Regions from separate parts of the Homo sapiens genome. Here region 2 is linked to region 1. The links are contacts of gene promoters, found by promoter capture Hi-C in human tissues and cell types (Jung and others, 2019). All regions are on one chromosome and are shown on one strand. Each heading gives the region's core, a stretch centred on a gene start or on the middle of the fragment in contact. The rest is flanking DNA. Distances are from core to core; before and after follow the strand shown.

Region 1 (4,041 bases), core at 1,127-3,626:
CATTCCTGCTGCTATAACAAAATATCTTAGACTGGATAATTTATAAATAATAGAAATTTTTTTCTTACAGTTCTGGAGGTTTGGAAGTCTAAGATCAAGGTGCCAGCAGATTTGGCATCCTGTGAGGACTTGCTCTCCTCTTCAAAGATGGCACCTTCTTGCTGAATCCTTACACAGTGGAAGGGGCAGAAGGCTCCCTTAAGCCCCTAAGGGCACTAATTCTATTCACAAGGACGAAGCCATCATGACTTCTCAAAGGTCCCACCTCTCAACACCGCAAGAATGGGGATTAGGTTTCAACATGAATTTTGTAGGGACACAAACATTCAGACCATAGCAAAGTCTATTAAAAATCCACTGCAATGTTTGGAGTAGACTGGAAGGGAAAGAACAGAAAGACATCTGAAATAGACTGAAATAGAGCAAAGGAGATGCAGAGAAATTCCAGAGAGAGACATTTAGGCAAACTTAGTCAGGGACCAGATCTAGGATATGAAAGAGAACAGTGTTCAAAGAAAAGCCCTGTTCAAAAACTCTGAACAATTCCCTACCGCCTTTGGGGAAACATCCAAGTGTCTGAGAGCTGGATATCAGGTTTTCCAGATTTACTTCCAATTTTTCTTTGTATTGCCTACTGCATCTTTTCACTGAATCAAAAGCTCTATAAGCACAGGCTTATCCATGAAAATTTGTTATTTAACAGCAGGTGTTCAATATATATTAGTTGATTGTCCATTCACCTTCTGACGGATGTTTGTATTCTTTCCATGTGGGGCTACGGCCAACACAACTGCCATGAGCACTCTTGTACAGGTTTTTGTGTGGACATCTGCTTTCATTTCTCCTGGGTAAATACCCAGGAGCAGAATTGCTGGGTTGCGTGGTAGGTTTGGTACATCCCTACAATACCATTCAGCAATAGAAAGACATGAACTATTGATACATGTAACAACATGGATGAACATAATTTGCTAAATAAAAGAAGCCAGGCAGCCCCCCAAAGGATAGTACATACGATTCCATACATAAAAGTTTTACATATAACTCTAGAAAAAGCAAAATAATCTATAGCAACAGAAAGCAGGTGAGCAGTTGAGGGGGCAAGTGACAGGGAGGGACAAGATATAAGAATTACAAAGGATCACAGTAAAACTTTTTTGGGTGATGGATATGTTCATGATTTTGATTGCAGTGATGGTCTCACAGTGATATATATATATCAAAACTTATCAAACTGTACATTTTAAACATTCAGTTTATTGTATGTCTTATACATGGCAGTCAAGCTGTAATAAAATACCGGTTGAATAAGCAGCAGGTTCTCAGTAAATGCATAATTTATCAAGCTGTACATTTTAAACGTTCAGTTTATTGTATGTCTTATACATGGCAGTCAAGCTGTAATAAAATACCGGTTGAATAAGCAGCAGGTTCTCAGTAAATGCATAATTTATCAAGCTGTACATTTTAAACGTTCAGTTTATTGTATGTCTTATACATGGCAGTCAAGCTGTAATAAAATACCGGTTGAATAAGCAGCAGGTTCTCAGTAAATGCATATCCAATGGTGCAGAGAAGTGTTCAATGTTGGCTGCAGGGATGCAAAGCAGGTGCCAATAAGTGTTGGTGGAATTAATGTGCAGAATAAATAAGTATTCACTTATTAGGTGTTCAATAACTTTAGAGTGAATGAATAAATTTGACAGATATTTATTGCTGATCGTGTGCTAGGCACTATCCTAGGCTCTGGGAATAGGTTAAGGAACCAAACAAAAATCCTTGTGCTCACAGAGCTTTAATTTTAGAAGGATAGCAGACAATAAAAGCATAAGTAAAATACATATAGTGTGCTAGATAGGTGCTAAGGAGAAATAAGGTTGAGAATGGGGATAGGGAAAGTCAAGGAAGGAGGTTGACATGTTAGAGACTGTGTCCACCGTCATTGAAAGGGTAATGCTTGAGAAAGGCCTGAAGGATATGGGCGGACAGAGTGTGTGTCTAGGGCAATAAAAAGTAACTGCTCCAGATGTTGAAGAAAATAATGTGCAGGAGTTGAACTGTTTGGAAGGAGGGTGAGCCCCATAGAAGGAGCCACCCTCGCCCCCTGCTGAGTCCCGGCTCGCTCGGCCCGCGCGTACCTGCGTTGTCCACCAGGAGGCGCTCCCGCACCCGCCCCGCAGGCGTCTTCCGCCGCCGGCCGGTGCGTGGGCACGCGCAGAAACCGCTAGGTGGCGACGGTTTCCCTTCCCACGCGCGGACGCCGGCGTGGGCCGACGCGGCCGGAGCGCCCGCGCGTGCGCAGAGCCGAGGCCAGGCTGCCCTCGAAGCGGGGCGGGGCGAAGCGGGGCGGGGCCGAGCAGGGCGGGGCGGGGGCTTGAGGTGATTCCCAAGCCGCGGGGCGGCTCCGGTGGTGCGGGGAAACCGAAAGTGGGCGGCGGCCGCGGCGGGGCCCCTGGCGGAGACGGCGGCAGGAGCTGGGCCCAGAGACGCGGGGACGGGCCGTGGGCCCCCGGAACGAGGTGAGTGCAGGTCCTGCGGGCTCCGGGCGCGACAGGTGCCGGGCGACGTCGGACGAGATTTCGGGCGGGCGCGGCGCACCTGGGTCACCGGTGGGACCGCGGCCAGGGCCGGGGGCTCCAACAGGCTCGGGGCCTTTTCCCTGCAGCCGCAGGGGATTGCCCCCGCCCCGACGCCTGGGAACCGGGCTGGGCGCCGGGGGAGTTGGAGTTCCAGAGCGTTGTGTTTTAAATCTCTGAAGGGACCCTGCTCCGGGCCGGGCGTTCACGCGGGAGTCGGACGGAGCCTCCTGCCGCCTCGGAAGCTCTGCGCCGTGGGGGAAATGCAGCAGCGGGGTGTGGACGCGGGCGGGAGATGCGGACCAGGAAGTGGTTCCCGCTACCGGCGCGACAGGCCGCAGCCGCCGCCCCCAGCGAGGGATGTCCGCGCTCCCCTATTTGAACCCAAGTATTTTACACCACGAACTTCTCTTGAAGGTCTCTATAATCTGGAGACGAGCCCCAGGCAGGCCGCTTAAGTAATGCAGGACACACATCCCCATTTCTCTCAAACGAGGAGCACCCAGTGGGTACAGAGCACCCAGCTGGGAGGGAAACATGGATCCGTGAGTAAGTTGTCTCTCAACTTTCAGTAGCATCCCCTCAGCAGGGTCAGACTCTCAGCTTCAGCTTGCTAGGAGGGAGCTTGGAGCCGGCATATCTTTCTGCTCCCATTCACTTGAGAGGTATATTTCCATTAATAGCTAAAGGTACCATTCTCAAATAATTTCTAAGAGCAGGGAAGGGAAACAACCACATTAGAACAAGTCCTGGCCCAGAAGAATTCTGATCACCGCCCATCCAAACCAAACCAAACCAAAAAACCACAGATCTAGTTCATTAACCCTCCTACCAACACCTCTCTGCTCTCCAATCGTGCCGGTGAAAAAAATGCAGAGAAATGTTCTCTCTAGAGAGATAGGCAACAGCTTAATAGCAGAAGTAAAACTTGGACCCAAATCCCTGTCTCGTCCTGGGCTGCCTTGATGTGTATGAATGTGTTGCATACTGCAAATAATGTGAACTTTGCAGACCTGGATTGAAATCTGGGCTTCTCATTTTACAAATTGTGTGATCTTGAACAAATTACATGCTTTCTCTTAGCCTGGTTTTCTATGTGTCAAATAGAGGTACCTGGCTTACTTTGCAAGGCTTTTCCAAGATAACCACTGTATATCCTTTGCCTCATAATAATTGCCAAGCAGTATTCACTCTCTTCCTCCCAACAAACGGTCCATGTTTTACATAATTGGATTTTAGTTTTTTGAGGGCAGGGACACAAAGATCTTTGTGTTTACTATATAATATAAATGGGCACATGGTGGATATTTTTGCATTTCCTCTCAGCTGACATTCATTGAGCATCAGTTACGTGCAAAGTACTGTTCTGGGTATAGGGAATTGCCCCTGGGGCCAGCTGGATTAGCACTCACATCTCCTGTGCCCCAATCCAGGGCCCTTTGGTGGCACACAGCCTCCGTCTTTG
Region 2 (4,439 bases), core at 862-3,361, 1.3 Mb before region 1:
TATGCTGGGACACCCATGCATGAAGGCCTGCTATCAACTGAATTGCATCCTCCCTAAACTCATATGTTGACACCCTAACCCCCAAAGTGATGGTGTTTGGGAGATAATCAGGTTTAGATTTGAAGCTCGTGGTGGAAGAGAAGCTAGAGAGCTTTCCTTTGCCTTCTGTTCTCCTACGAGGACACAGCCAGAAGGCAGCCGTTTACCAGTCAGAAAGAGAGCCCTCACCAGAAACTGACCATGCTGGCACCCTCATCTTTCACTTCCAGCCTCCAGAACTCTGAGAAAATTAATTTCTGTTGTTTAAGCCACCAGTCCAGGATATTTTGTTATGAAGCGACTATGACAGGGAGGGGAGCTGTTCCACCCCTGCTGCCTCAGCCTGCATGGCTGTCCCTGTCCCCACCTCCTCATCTTTCTATCTTCTTGCCTCTTCCCTTCCCCATCTCTCCTGTGAATTAGCTCCTTAGGGCTGCCATAACAAAAGTACCACAAATGTGGCAGCTTAAAACAAGAGAACTAACATGGTGAAACCACGTCTCTACTAAAAATACAAAAAAAAAAAAAAAAAAAAAAAAAGCCGAGTGTGTTGGCGGGCACCTGTAGTCCCAGCTCCATGGAAGGCTGAGGCAGGAGAATGGTGAACCCGGGAGGCGGAGCTTGCGGTGAGCCGAGATCGCACCACTGCACTCCAGCCTGGGCGACAGAGCGAGACTCCATCTAAAACAAAAAACAAAAAACCACCACCACCAACAACAAAAAACAAACAAGAGAAACTTCCTCTCTCACAGTTTTGGAGACCAAAAGTCCAAAATCAATGTGTTGGCAGGGCCACGATCTCTCTGAAGGTTCTGGGGGGGATCCCTCCCTTGCCTCTTCCAACTTGTGGTGCTTCCTGGCATTTCTTAGCTGTGACAGCATCACTCCCATCTCTGAGTCCAAGTTCACACGGCTTTCTTCCCTCTGTGTCTCTCTGTGTCTCAAATCTTCTCCTTTCTCTTGCAAAAATATCTACTAGTCAATGGACTTAGGTCCCACCCTAAATCCAGGATGATCTCATCTTGAGACCTTTAACTAGATCATATCTGCAAAAATCTCATTTCCAAATAAGGTCACATTTGCAAGGACCGGGGTAAGGACTTGGAGCTATCTTTTCGGGGACACTTTTCTACCCTCCACACCCACTTACCCTTTCCCCACCACACCTCATCTTCCTTCCTCCACATCCTGGAGCTCACTCTGCTGTCCTGTCCTTCGCCTGCAGGCTTTGACCCAGGGCTGGATGGGAGCTGGAGCAGGAGGCCCAGGCATTGCATCTGGTCTCCACAACAAGACGCTCAGTACCTACGAGTCCAACTTTCAGTCTCCAAGTGTGAGCATACAGAGCAATCTCACAAAGAACCTTCTCACTGGGAAGGAAATGGCTTACACATTAACATGAGTGCACTTAGACAAAGAATAGCTGGCAATGTTGCAATGCTGGAGACAAGTCCCAGCAGCCAGTTGTGCCTTGTTAGAGACTCATTGATTTTGGGTGGCCTGGATTCCATTGTCACCAATGATATGATCATATGGGCCATGTTCCAAATGCCTCTGGCTGTGTTCAGAGGATGAGAAGGGGGAGAGTTAAACAAACCCCCATGCAGAATCTGAAGGCTTTATTCATCCACCCTGGCACTGCTTTGCCCACTGAATAAAACATTCTGTACCCAGGGGCAAGCCCAGGCCCCAGCTGGTACCGTTCCCAATGTCCCACAGGCTTCCAGGCTGCCCTTCAGCACAGACTCCTCCAGAACACTGTGCTCAGGGGCCGCCAAGGTTCCAGCTCCAAGATGCAAACTCTGCCCCAATTGCCAAGGGAGTGGCTGTCTTTGCAGGGCATTGTCTGTGAGTCCTTGATCCCTGTCTTCACTAATGGCAATCCCAGGAAACTGCCTGTGAATAAAAGCCTTCTCAGCCCTGGGGAAGAAACAGGCACAGCTGGCTCAAATTGTCCAGCTGAAGACAGAGCTCAGCCTGGAAGGGACACAGCTCAGTTACCACCGTGCCAGGCAGCTCTTCCTTTTATATAAACATTTGAGGGCAGGGTTCTCAAGCCCCGCTGCCCCCTAGTCCTACCTTTTCTCCATTGTGACCACAGAGGGTTTTGTTGTTGTTGTTGTCATTGTTTCTTGGGGGGTTTTTTTGTTTGTTTTTTGTTGTGTCTTGTTTTCTTTTTGAGGCAAAGGGATAACTCTTTCAGAGGGGCACCTGGAACTGTCTGGTGTGGAAGCTTTTCCTCATTCGGCACAATTTCAAACTTGCGAGCTTTCACAAAGGCGTGGGTGACTGTTTTACTCCTTGATAAAAGTCTGGCATATTCAGAGTTACTGAGACCCAGGAGCGGTATCTAATACTTTGGAAACTAGCAAGGGTTGCTTTATTTCCCATTCTTGATTCTACATTGAAAGTGGGGGATCTTGTTATGCAGATCCTAACACTCTGCCCCTCCCCAAATCCAAATGAAAGGCAAGGTCATTTCACTGGAAATGTGGTAAGCAGTTAGCAGACAATGGGATTGTCCCCAGTGCGGGGTGAGGGTGGATAAGAAACACACAGGTGGGACGGTTAACAACATCAGGAGCTGTGGCTTTATGGAAATTTATGTAAGCATGATGAATTGCACACAGCCATTTGTCTCTATTCCCTCCTAACCCTCCATGAAAGTGACAGGAAAGGGACAAAAAGACATTGGCGCACAAAAGCGAAGAGAACATGAAAGGAGTCACAGCAGAGAGAGGTCAACTGAATGACTGCAAGAGGAAGTCAGATCTAGCAGTGAGTAAGTGAACAGACCACAGGATGCAGAAAGCTAGCACTTCAAGGGCTGGGGCAGGAGCTGCTGGGCAGATTCACAACGCAGAACCCAGGGAGTCTTGGGAAGTGGAAGCATAGGGCATTGCTCATGGGGAATATCCCAGTGGGCTAAAAATGAGAGGATTAATTGAAAATCTATAAAAGAAGAAGTCAGAGATTCCCTTGCTTACCTCACTCAGGACTGGGACCACCCCTCCCTCATCCAGAAGAAGACAAGTGGATGGGGGGAGTTGTTGTCACTTTCTAGAGAAGACAAAGGAAAGGGAGTCCAGGCTCAGGACCCAGGTCTAGGTGAAAACAGTGGAGTGTAATAAAAATCAAGCCCTGTGGCATCCCCTTTCCTCACTTGGCTGTGAACTAGGCCAGGCTCAGGAAATTAGAGAATTCTTCTCTGGGGAAACTCATCAATCCCAGAGATAGGATTTGCAGATAATAATGTTTAAGAGTTCCTCAACAAAATAGCCAGTTTCCTTCTGGGAAGTCCTACTGAAAGAGAAACCTTTGCATGCAGAGTTTCCAATAACCTAATTTATTTGTTTGTTTGTTTATTTTTAAATTTTGAGACAGGGTCTTGTGGTTTCACCCAGGCTGGAGTGCAGTGGGGTTATCATGGCTCACTGCCACTTTGACTTCCCAGGCTCAAGCCATCCTCCCACCTCAGCCTCCCAAGTAGCTGGATCTACAGGCATGTGCCATCATGCCCAGCTAATTTTTAAATTTTTTTTGTAGAGACAGGGTCTTGCTTTGTTACCTAGGCTTTTCTCGAACTCCTGGGCTCCAGCAATCCTCCCACCTTTGCCTCCCAAAGTGCTGGGATTATAGGCATGAGCCACCACACCTGGCTTCCAATCATCTTTTTAGTCTAGCCATTTGCCCTTTAAATATGAATGGACTCAGGAGTAGCAGATATTTGAGGAAAGTCTTTACGAAAGAAAGAAAAAAACATAATAAAGGAATGAGAGGTAATATAGAGAACAAGATACCTTTATAAAATTTGTAATTTATTTTTTAGTGAAAAAGGGAGATGTTGCATCCATAAAACAAGATCAAGGTGCCATATTAAGAGGAACACATAAAAATGATAACATGAAATTTTAAAACTTTCTCATAAAAGTTGGAAGATAAAGAGGATCTCTGATGCTAGAATCATAGAGCTTTTGCTTAAGAATTGCTTACAATGTTTTTCAGATTCTGAATTCTAGCAGAACAGCTGACATCAACCAGTGTGAAAACCCTTATAGAAGAACTATATCAGCATGAGAATGTTTCTTCATCTCCCCTTCCCATGACTTTACCCTGAATTCATCAATCAATCAATGATCCCCACACCTCAGTCCACTCCAAACCCCTTAACATCCCTAGCCCCAAACTCCTCAGGGAGGTGGATGTGCGGTTTCCTCCCATCTCATTAGGCTGCCCTATAATTATTTAATTTGTTCTCTGCTGCTCCCTGGTGTCTCAGCATATTGACTTGCTGTGCATTGGGCAGATGAATCTATTACAAGAGTCCCACCAACTACTGTAGTATTATGACAACAGATCACCTTGGGATTTCAAAATACTGGGAAAAGTGAGAAAACTCT

The links. Contacts are between HindIII fragments. The study calls those that stand out against the background at their distance.
Region 2: a contact is called between a fragment that was not itself captured here and the fragment with the promoter of TDRD7 in region 1, in 1 of the 25 tissues and cell types used here (lymphoblastoid cells).

Annotation. Positions count from the first base shown.
Region 1 is chr9:97,409,720-97,413,760 of GRCh38, forward strand. It overlaps TDRD7 (tudor domain containing 7), which reads left to right and starts at 2,377. Exons shown (of 17, transcript NM_014290.3): 1 at 2,377-2,519. RefSeq lists silencers at 2,064-2,413, 2,434-2,643, 2,728-3,022 and enhancers at 2,358-2,859, 2,860-3,359, 2,964-3,223. The HindIII fragment of the contact is 10,560 bases long and covers 1-4,041 here.
Region 2 is chr9:96,115,041-96,119,479 of GRCh38, forward strand. It overlaps LOC158434 (a long non-coding RNA gene), which reads right to left and starts at 1,371. Exons shown (of 3, transcript NR_132344.1): 1 at 1,206-1,371. The HindIII fragment of the contact is 5,451 bases long and covers 1-4,439 here.